Regions from separate parts of the Homo sapiens genome. Here region 1 is linked to region 2. The links are contacts of gene promoters, found by promoter capture Hi-C in blood cells and fetal thymus (Javierre and others, 2016). All regions are on one chromosome and are shown on one strand. The core of a region is centred on a gene start or on the middle of the fragment in contact, and the rest is flanking DNA. Distances in the headings are between cores, read along the strand shown. Region 1 overlaps ATAD2B (ATPase family AAA domain containing 2B). Region 2 holds the start of MFSD2B (MFSD2 lysolipid transporter B, sphingolipid).

Region 1 (4,728 bases), core at 497-2,996, 160 kb before region 2:
TTTTCTGAGACAGGGCCTCACTCTCTCACCTAGGCTGTAGTTCGGTGGCACGATTGTGGCTCACTGCAGCCTTGACCTCCCCAGGCTCAAGTGATCCTCTCACGTCAGCCTCCCAAGTAGCTAGGACGAGAGGCACACCACACCCAACTAATTTTTGTACTTTTAGTAGAGACACGGTTTTGCCACATTGCCCAGGCTGGTCTCAAACTGCTGAGCTCAAGAGATCCACTGTCCTTGGCCTCCCAAAGTGCTGGGACTACAAGTGTGAGCCACTGTGCCCAGTCATGAATAGTCTATTTTTAAGACCATTTGTTAGGGCAGTTTTAGGTTAACAGCCAAATTGAGAAGGAAATACAGAGACTTTCATACGTCCCCCGCCTGCCCCTTCATATGTATACCCATGCCCCAACAGAGTGGTGCACTTATTTCAACTGATGAACCTACAATGACACATCACAATCTACAAAGTCCACAGTTTACATTAAGGTTCACGCTTGATGATATACATTCTATGGGTTTGGACAAACATATCATGATGTGGATCCACTCTTACAGTATAACACAGACTATTTTCACTGCCCTAAAAAATCTTTTATACTCTGCCTACAAATCCCCCTCAGTCTACTAATTTTTAAAAATATAAGAAAAAAGGTAGTATAAAATTGGAAACAAAAATAATAGTAGAAAATCTATGAAAACAGAAGTTGCCTCTTTGGGGGAGAAAGGACCAATAAAATTGATAATCCTCTAGCCGGAGTAATCAAGAAAAAAAAAAAGAGAAAACACAGGTTATCACCATCGGAAATGAAAAGAATACTACCGCAGACTATTTAGGCATTAAGGAGATAACAGAATAGTAGGAAAAAATGTATGTAAATTTCTTGACTTAGGTGAAATGAACAAATTCCTTTAAAGATAAACTACCAAACTAACAAAACTGACCTAAGAATAAATAGAAAACTTGAACAGCCCTGTATCAACTGAAGAAATTTAACTTGTAATCAAAAACCTTTCCATAAACAAAACTCCAGGCCCAGGTATTTTCACTGGTGAATTCTCTCAAACACTTAAGAAATGAATAACATCAAACTTACACAAACACTTTCAGAAAATAGAGAAAGAGGGAATGCCATCTCATCTTTTTTTTTTTAAGAGACAGGGTCTCACTATGTTGCCCAGGCTGCTCTTGCACTCCTAGACTCAAGAGATCCTGCTGCCTCAGCCTCTCAAAGTGTTGAGATTACAGGCATGCACCATCACACCCAGTGTATATCTCATCTAATACACATCAAAATTACCTGATTCCAAAACCAGATGCAGATATTTTAAGAGTAATTACAGATCAAAATCTCATTAATACAGATAATAAAACTTTTTATATTAGCAAGTGGAATCCAATAATTTTTTAAGAAAGACAATATATTATGAGCAAGTGAGGTTTATTCTAAGAATGCAAAGTTAGTTTACTATCTAAAATTCAGGCCAGGCGCAGTGGCTCACACTTGTAATCCCAGCACTTCGGGAGGCCGAGGCAGGTGGATCACCTGAGGTCAGGCGTTCAAGACAAGCCTGACCAACATGGTGAAACCCTGTCTCTACTAAAAACACAAAAATTAGCCAGGCACGGTGGCAGACACCTGTAATGCCAGGTACTCGGGAGGCTGAGGCAAGAGAATCACTTGAACCCAGGAGGTGGAGGTTGCAGTGAGCCGAGATCACGCCATTGCACTCCAGCATGGGCGACAGAGCGAGACTCCATCTCCAAAAAAAAAAAAAAATCTAAAATTCAATCAAAATAATGCTCTACCTTAATAGAATACAGGAGAAAAGCCATATGATCAATTCAAAAGAGACAGAAAAAAAAATATGTTACAAAGTTCAGTACTCTATCCCAGTAAAATAAACTCTCACAGCAAACTAGGAATATAGTGGAAATCCCTCAATGTAATAAAGGGCACCTATGAAAAACTTAGTTAAAATCACATTCAATGGTTAAAGTCTCAATGTTTTACAGCCAATGAAGGAAACAGGCAGTGATTTCCATTATCACCATTACTATTTAACTGAATTCTAGCCAAAGAAATAAGAAAAAGAAATAAAAGACATAGATTGGAAAGGAAGAAGTAGAAGTACCTTTATTTGCAGATAAGGTATATGTATAAAACCGTAAGGAAACCACAAAATAGCTAATAGAACTAACAAATGAATTTAGCAAGGTTGTGGATACAAAGTCTATAAACTCAGTTGTATTTTTATAAACCAGCAGTAAGCAATTAGAAAATAAATTTTCTTTCAAAACTCCATTCACATTAAATGAACAATAAAGTATTTAGGGATGCATTAAACAAAAGATGCCTAAGATCCTTATGCTAAAACCATAAGACACAGGAAAAGGAAATTAAAGAATACCTAAATAAATGAACAGAATTACCATGTTCATAGACTGAAAGACGAATAAGGATGCAATTCTTCCCAAATAGATCGAAGGATTAATTGCAATCCCAAATAAATCCCAACAGTCTTTTCTAAAGAAACTGACAAGAGGCTTTAGAAATGTAAATGGAAAGATAATAGATGACTACAACAATTCTGAAAAAGAACAAATTTGGAGGACTTATACTAAAATGAACATTAATCAAGACAGTGGTATAAGGATAGACCTGTAGATCAATGGAATCAACTAACAAATCTAGAAATAGACACACATTTATATGGTCAATTTTTGTCAAAGACGTGCCAAGAAATTTAACAAAGTAAACTCTTCAATATATGGTTCTGGAACAAATGAGTATCTGTATAAAAAAATAGGCTGGGCATGGTGGCTCATGCCTGTAATACCAGCACTTTGGGAGGCCGAAGCAGGAGAATCACCTGAGGTCAGAAGTTCGAGACCAGCCTGGCCAACATGGTGAAACATACCTCTACTAATAATACAAAAATTCGCCAGGCATGGTAGCACACACCTGTAATCCCAGCTACTCAGGAGGCTGAGGCACAAGAATCACTTGAACCTGGGAGGTGGAGGCTACAGTGAGCTGAGATCGCGCGACTGCACTCCAGCCTGGGCAACAGAGTGACACTCCGTCTCAAAGAAAAAAAAAGAATACCTGTATTAAAAAAATAAACTTCAGTCCATACCTTAAACTATCTACAAAAATTAACTTAAACCCTCACCTCTTACTGATACACAAACATTAACGTAAAATGAATCATTGACTTAAATATTAAGAGCTAACACTGGCTGGGAACAGTGGCTCATGCCTGTAAGCCCAACACTTTGGGAGGCCGAGGTGGGTGGATCACCTGAGGTCAGGAGTTCTAGACCAGCCTGGCCAATATGGTGAAACCCCACCTCTACTAAAAATACAAAAATTAGCCAGGCGTGGTGGCAGGCACCTGTAATCCCAGCTACTCGGGGGGCCAAGGCAGGAGAATCGCTTGAACCTGGCAGGCGGCGGTTGCAGTGAGCCAAGATCGTGCCATTGCACTCCAGCCTGGGGCACAAGATCGAGACTTCGTCTCAAAAAAAAAAAAAAAAGCTAACGCTATTAATATTTTCAAAGAAAACATCCAAGAAAATTATTGCCACACTTATTTAGGCAACTTTTCTCAAGCAGAACACAAAAGGCACAGATACATTTTTTAAATCTATATGGTGGCTTTATCAAAATTCAAATCCTGACTCTTCAAAAGTCCTAACTAAGCAAACAAAGATACAAGCCAGAACACTGGAAAAAAATTTCAAAACAAAGACTGGGCCAGGGGTATTGTCTCATGCCTGTAATCCCAGCACTTTGGGAGGCCACGGCAGGCAGATCACTTGAGGTCAAGAGTTCGAGACCAGTCTGGCCAACATGGCAAAACCCTGTCTCTACTAAAAATACAAAATTAGCCGGGCATGGTGGTGCACACCTGTAATCCCAGCTACTCGAGAGGCTGAGCCAGGAGAATCGCTTCAATGCGGGGTGCGGAGGTTGCAGTGAGCTGAGATCGCACCACTGCACTCCAACAGGGCAACAGAGCAAGACTCTGTCTCAAAAAAAAAAAAAAAACACAAGGACTACAACACAACAAGACACACAATCTAATTTCTAGTTTTAAAAAATGGCGCAAAAGATTTACAGACATTTCACAAATGAAAATATATAAACAGGCAATAAACACAAAGATGCTCAATATTATTGGATTAATATTAAAGCTTAATATTATTTGTATTACTATTAATGCAAATTAAATCCATTACTGTACACCCACTAGGATGGCTAAAGTTAAAGACAGTTAACACCACCAATTGTTGGCAAGGATGAGGAACAACTCAAATTATCATACGTTATAGGAAAATAAAAATGGTAAAACCACTTTGGAAAACAGTACAGTGTTACCTTAGAAACTTAAACACACATTTACCATAGGCTCCAGAAATTCCTCTCTCAGGGATTTACCCAACAGAAAAGAAAACATGTCCACACAAAAACTTGTAGAGACGCTTTGAGAGGCCAAGATGGAGGGCTCGCTTGAGACTAGGTGTCAGAAACCAACCAGGGAAACATAGCGAGACTCCGTCTCTACAACAAATACAAAAATTAGCCAGGTGGGGTACTGCATGCCTGTAGTTCTAGCTACTCAGGAGGCTGAGGCAGTAGGATCACTTGGGCCTAGAAGTTTGAGGTTACAGTGAGCTATGATCACACCATTGCACTCCAGCCTAGGTAAGAGAATGAGATCCAG
Region 2 (4,394 bases), core at 233-2,732:
GGTTTTTTGTGTTTGGTTGGTTTTGTTTTTGTTTTTGTTTTTGAGACAGAGTCTCCCTCTGTCACCCAGGCTGGAATGCAGTGGCACGATCTTGGCTCACTGCAATCTCCGCCTCCCGGGTTCAAGCGATTCTCCTGCCTCAGCCTGCCGAGTAGCTGGGATTACAGGCATGAGCCACCGTGCCTGTCCCTTGCTCCTGTTTTTTCATAAGTTTTACATTCTAGGTCTATGATGCATTTTTAGTTAATGTGTACCCCTGTTACTGGTGGAAGGTATCTGAGTCACGTGGCACCAAAATATGTCAGCAGGAGTGAATCTATATGGGTCTGCAGCAACCTCAGTTCCTGCCTCCTCAGAAGAAAGAATTCCACTGAGGGGCATAAGGCAGAAGGAGAGACTGAGGCAAGTTTTAGAGCAGGAATAAAAGTTTATTAAAAAGCTCTACAGCAGAAATGGAAGGAAGGAAAGTACACTTGGAAGAGGGCCAAGCGGGTGACCTGAAAAAGAAGCGCACAGTTTGACCTTTTGACCTGGGGTCTTATGCATTGGCATACTTCTGGGGTCTTGCATCCCTTCTCCCCTGATTCTTCCCTTGGGAGGCCTGCCTGCATGGGCAGTGGTCTGCCAGCACTTGGGAGGGGAGTGTGCACACTGTGTATACTGGAGTTGTACCCATGCTCACTGGAGGCGTTCTTCCCTTACCAGTCCGGTGTCCTTCGAGGGTCACATGTCAGTTAAACTCCGCAATTTGTGTAAGCCCACTTGCCCAGCTCCTGAGATCTTACCGAGAAGCTGATCACCAGTTTCAGGTTTTCTCTATCTATTGGGAGACTGCCTTTCCCTGGCCCCGCTGGATCAATGATCATTTTAGAGGGAGCATAACAACCGCCTGACTGTCGCCTGATGGTTGCCTGACGTACCTGGTTGGAAGCGTGGCCCTCTCCTGCCCTTTTCGAGGCTGACTAGCTACCTGCTGTCACCCCCCTTCCCTTTTAAGGACTTTTCTGGAATGTTGGCCTGTGCCACCTGCTTTTATTCGCTGGCCAGAACTTAGTTACTGGCCATCCCCGTGGTCTGTATAGGAGACTCGACAATGTATATTTCAGGCGTTGGGCATCATGTGTAGCCGGCGGAATGCCTGTTCAGCCATGGTCCAGCCTGAACGAGCGGGCCTCTTGCTTCATTTTGCAGGGGAGCTGCTGCTTGCCCGCGGTCACCCCAGCGGTCTGGCGGAGCCCTTAGCGCGCAGGGCCGCCGTCTGCGGGCGCTCACGCCCCCGGGGATCCACCCCAAGGAGAACGGTCCTGAGGGCCTGCCGGGCCTTTCCCCCCGCGGATTTTGGTTCTTCGCTGTTTCCCTTTGGGGTGCCCTTCGCGGTTTCTGCGTTTCCCCCGCGTTGCCAGCAGCCACTCGCGCCGCGCCCCTAGCCCAGAACCGCCCCTCCCAAGGGCGATAACCCCGAGGGCAACGGCCGCGGGCGGCGCTGCGGTGGCAATGGCGGCGCCCCCTGCACCAGCCGCCAAGGGGTCCCCGCAGCCGGAGCCGCACGCCCCAGAGCCCGGCCCGGGGAGCGCCAAGCGAGGGCGAGAGGTGAGCGGGGCGGCGGGGACCGGGAAGGGGCTGCGTCCTCGGGGAGCTCCAGGGCGTCGCCTCGCAGCCCCTTTTCCAGCTGGGGGCAGCCCGGAGGGGCTCGGCCCAAACCTGCCAGCTCAGGGGCTGCCCTCGCGGGGTTACACGGCTGGGAGCGGGGAGGCTGGTAGGTGCCGGCGCCGGAAAGAGACTAGGACGGGAAGCCTAGCCCTAGCCAAGGAAGTAACTTGGGGATGCGTGGTCATTGCTGTCCTGATTCCCGGCTTAGGGGTCTTGTCCGTGCCACCGCAGGTCCTCCCGGGGTCCCCGAGCTCTGGGCAGGCAGGGCTTTCTGAAGCGCCTGGGGAGGCTGCGTCCTTCCCGACCTCAGGCAGCTGCTGTGGCCTCGGCCTCCCTCCCAGACCCTGGCCTCGCCCAGGCACCAGGCTCCCCTTGGAGGCAGCCTCAGGGAAGGTCCTGGCCATGGGCTCCGACAAGAAGGGAGGAGGGCAGGTGGGAGCGGCGGGGTCTTCGGGGCCCCTTGTCCCTTGCCCGATGCCGCCGGGCCGTGCTGGCCAGTGGGGCTGTGCTGGACGGAGCAAGGGGCCTGGGGCTTCCTGGGCCTCACTGAACGCGCCTGCTCCCTGCTCGTGCCCAGGGCATTCTGTGGCCTCCCCTGACCACCTCAGCCCCCAGCCTGTTCAGGGCTTCCTACGAGGCACCTGGGAGCACAGGATTGCATCCCACAAGAAAGTGAGGTGAGATGAAGGGGCTCTCCGGGGACTCTCACTTCCCAGGGAAACTTAGAAATTCAGGGTGAGATTAACAGCAAGAGGGAAACACTCGCATTGCTGATGAAGTTCCGGCGTGGAATCCTCTTACGACTCTCCGAGGGGTGGCAGCCCCGGTCACTCCAAGGAGACCGAGGTGCCCTGCCCTGGGTCACGCAGCTAGAGATAGCAGGGCTGCGCCCCTCGCCCGGAGCCGCCCCTCCCAAGGGGCTTCTCCTTGTACAGCTCACTGTACAGCTGTACCGGGCTTTTATGACTTTCGGTAAAACTGTCATCCTCAAGACGGCAAGATGGGATCATATCCCTGGCTTCACTTGGAAGTTCTTTCTAAAGTTCTAAAAACTTGCTAGGCCTGTTTTGGGGGATACAAGAGTCCCCATTAGGGGGAGAGGGGGACTGTCACGTTGAATTCTGCCTGTTCTTAAAGTTTTCTGGAAGCTGAAATGATGTTCACACAAATGTCAGAAAAGAATCATCCTGCCCCCAGTGTGGTTTTCCCCTGTGGGTAGGAAGAGTGTGCAAAGTGTGATAAACCCTTATCTGGGGAGACCTTCCCTTCACAAGAGCCTGCTGGGGTGTCCTGCAAGATGTGGAAATGGGTGAAGCCATGTCATCTCCACTCCCTCCAGCCCCCAGCAAACGATGAGAAAAGAGCCCAGCTTCTTCCAAAGAAACAGCACTTTACACAGGGTCTTCATGGCCATTTATTGCTTCAACGGATATATACTAAGCACCTACTGTATACCAAGCTTTGTTCTAGGTACTGGAAACACCATGATAAATAAAAGGTGGAGTTCATGCTCTCAGAGAGCTTACATTCCTGTAGGGAGAGGCAGGAACTAAATGAAAATATAGCAGGCGGTAAGTACAACTGAGAGAGGTGAGAGGTTAGGGAATGCCTCTTGGAGGAGGTGACATTTAAGCTGGTGACATCAAACCAGAATGACAAGGAGTCACCTTCCAGGCAGAGGAATGGGAAGGGCAAAGGCCCTGAGGCAGCAACAGACTTGATGATTTTGAGGAATAGGAAGGAGCCCGGCGTGGCTGAAGGAGAGCTATTTGAGGTGAGGTGGGTAGGGGGCCGACTGGGTGGACTCCTTAGCCATGATCAGGACTTGGAGTTTTATTCAAACTGCAATGGTATTGACTGAATACCATGGATCTGGAAACAAACAAACAAACAAACAAAACACACACACACACACACACACACACACAAAAACAGACAAAAAAACCCTGCAATAGCAAGCCATTGGAGAGTTTTAATCAGAGAGGAGATGGGATCTGATTATTTATTTATTTATTTATGACTGAGTCTCTGTCACCCAGGCTGGAGTGCAGTGGTGTGATATTTGCTCACTGCAACCTCTGCCTCCCTGGTTCAAGCAATTCTCTTGCCTCAGCCTCCTGAGTAGCTGGGATTACAGGCGGCCACTATGCCTGGCTAATTTTTGTGTTTCTAGTAGAGATGGGGTTTTGCCATGTTGGGCAGGCTGGTCTTCAACTCCTGGGCTCAAGCAATCCACCTACCTCGGCCTCCCAAAGTGCTGGGTTTATAGGGATGAGCCACTGTGCGATTTATGTTATTACAAGAGCACTGGCTGCTGGGTGGAGTGGATTGTAGGGAGCAAGGGCAGACACAGAAGCCACTTAGGAGGCATTCACTGATAGACAAGAACTGGAAAGAAGAATAGATGACTCCTAAGTTTGTGGCCTGAGCCACTGAGGGGACCAGCGGTGCCATTTGCTAGGAGCTGGATTAGACAATGGAATGGCCATCAGGAGCTGTATGTAGACCATGCTAAGCTGAGACGCCTGCCAGGCATCCCTGGAGGGCTGTGGGTAGGCAGGCTATGGGTAAATGAGCTATCGCCTCATTTACTCATCGAAGAAACAACTTTGTGAAGTTGGCAGGGATGTTGCATTTGACAGATGAGGAAAACAGGCTTAGAGAGATGATGTGATTTATTCAAGGTCACATAGAGGGGTAGGTGACAAAGGCAGGCTCAAGCCCAGGTCTCCTGACCTGCAGCT

What was found. The method cuts DNA at HindIII sites, captures the fragments that hold promoters and counts their contacts. A CHiCAGO score of 5 or more calls a contact.
Region 1: a fragment that was not itself captured here is called in contact with the fragment with the promoter of MFSD2B in region 2 in 2 of 17 cell types (naive B cells and total B cells); the score reaches 6.5 in naive B cells.

What each region holds. Positions count from the first base shown.
Region 1 is chr2:23,851,157-23,855,884 of GRCh38, forward strand. The region is part of intron 13 of ATAD2B (ATPase family AAA domain containing 2B); the gene reads right to left. Among named protein-coding and RNA genes, the nearest start is that of ATAD2B, 74 kb to the right of the region's middle. The HindIII fragment of the contact is 4,900 bases long and covers 1-4,196 here.
Region 2 is chr2:24,008,603-24,012,996 of GRCh38, forward strand. MFSD2B (MFSD2 lysolipid transporter B, sphingolipid) reads left to right here and starts at 1,483. Exons shown (of 14, transcript NM_001346880.2): 1 at 1,483-1,590. The coding sequence starts at 1,495. The HindIII fragment of the contact is 4,987 bases long and covers 1-3,107 here.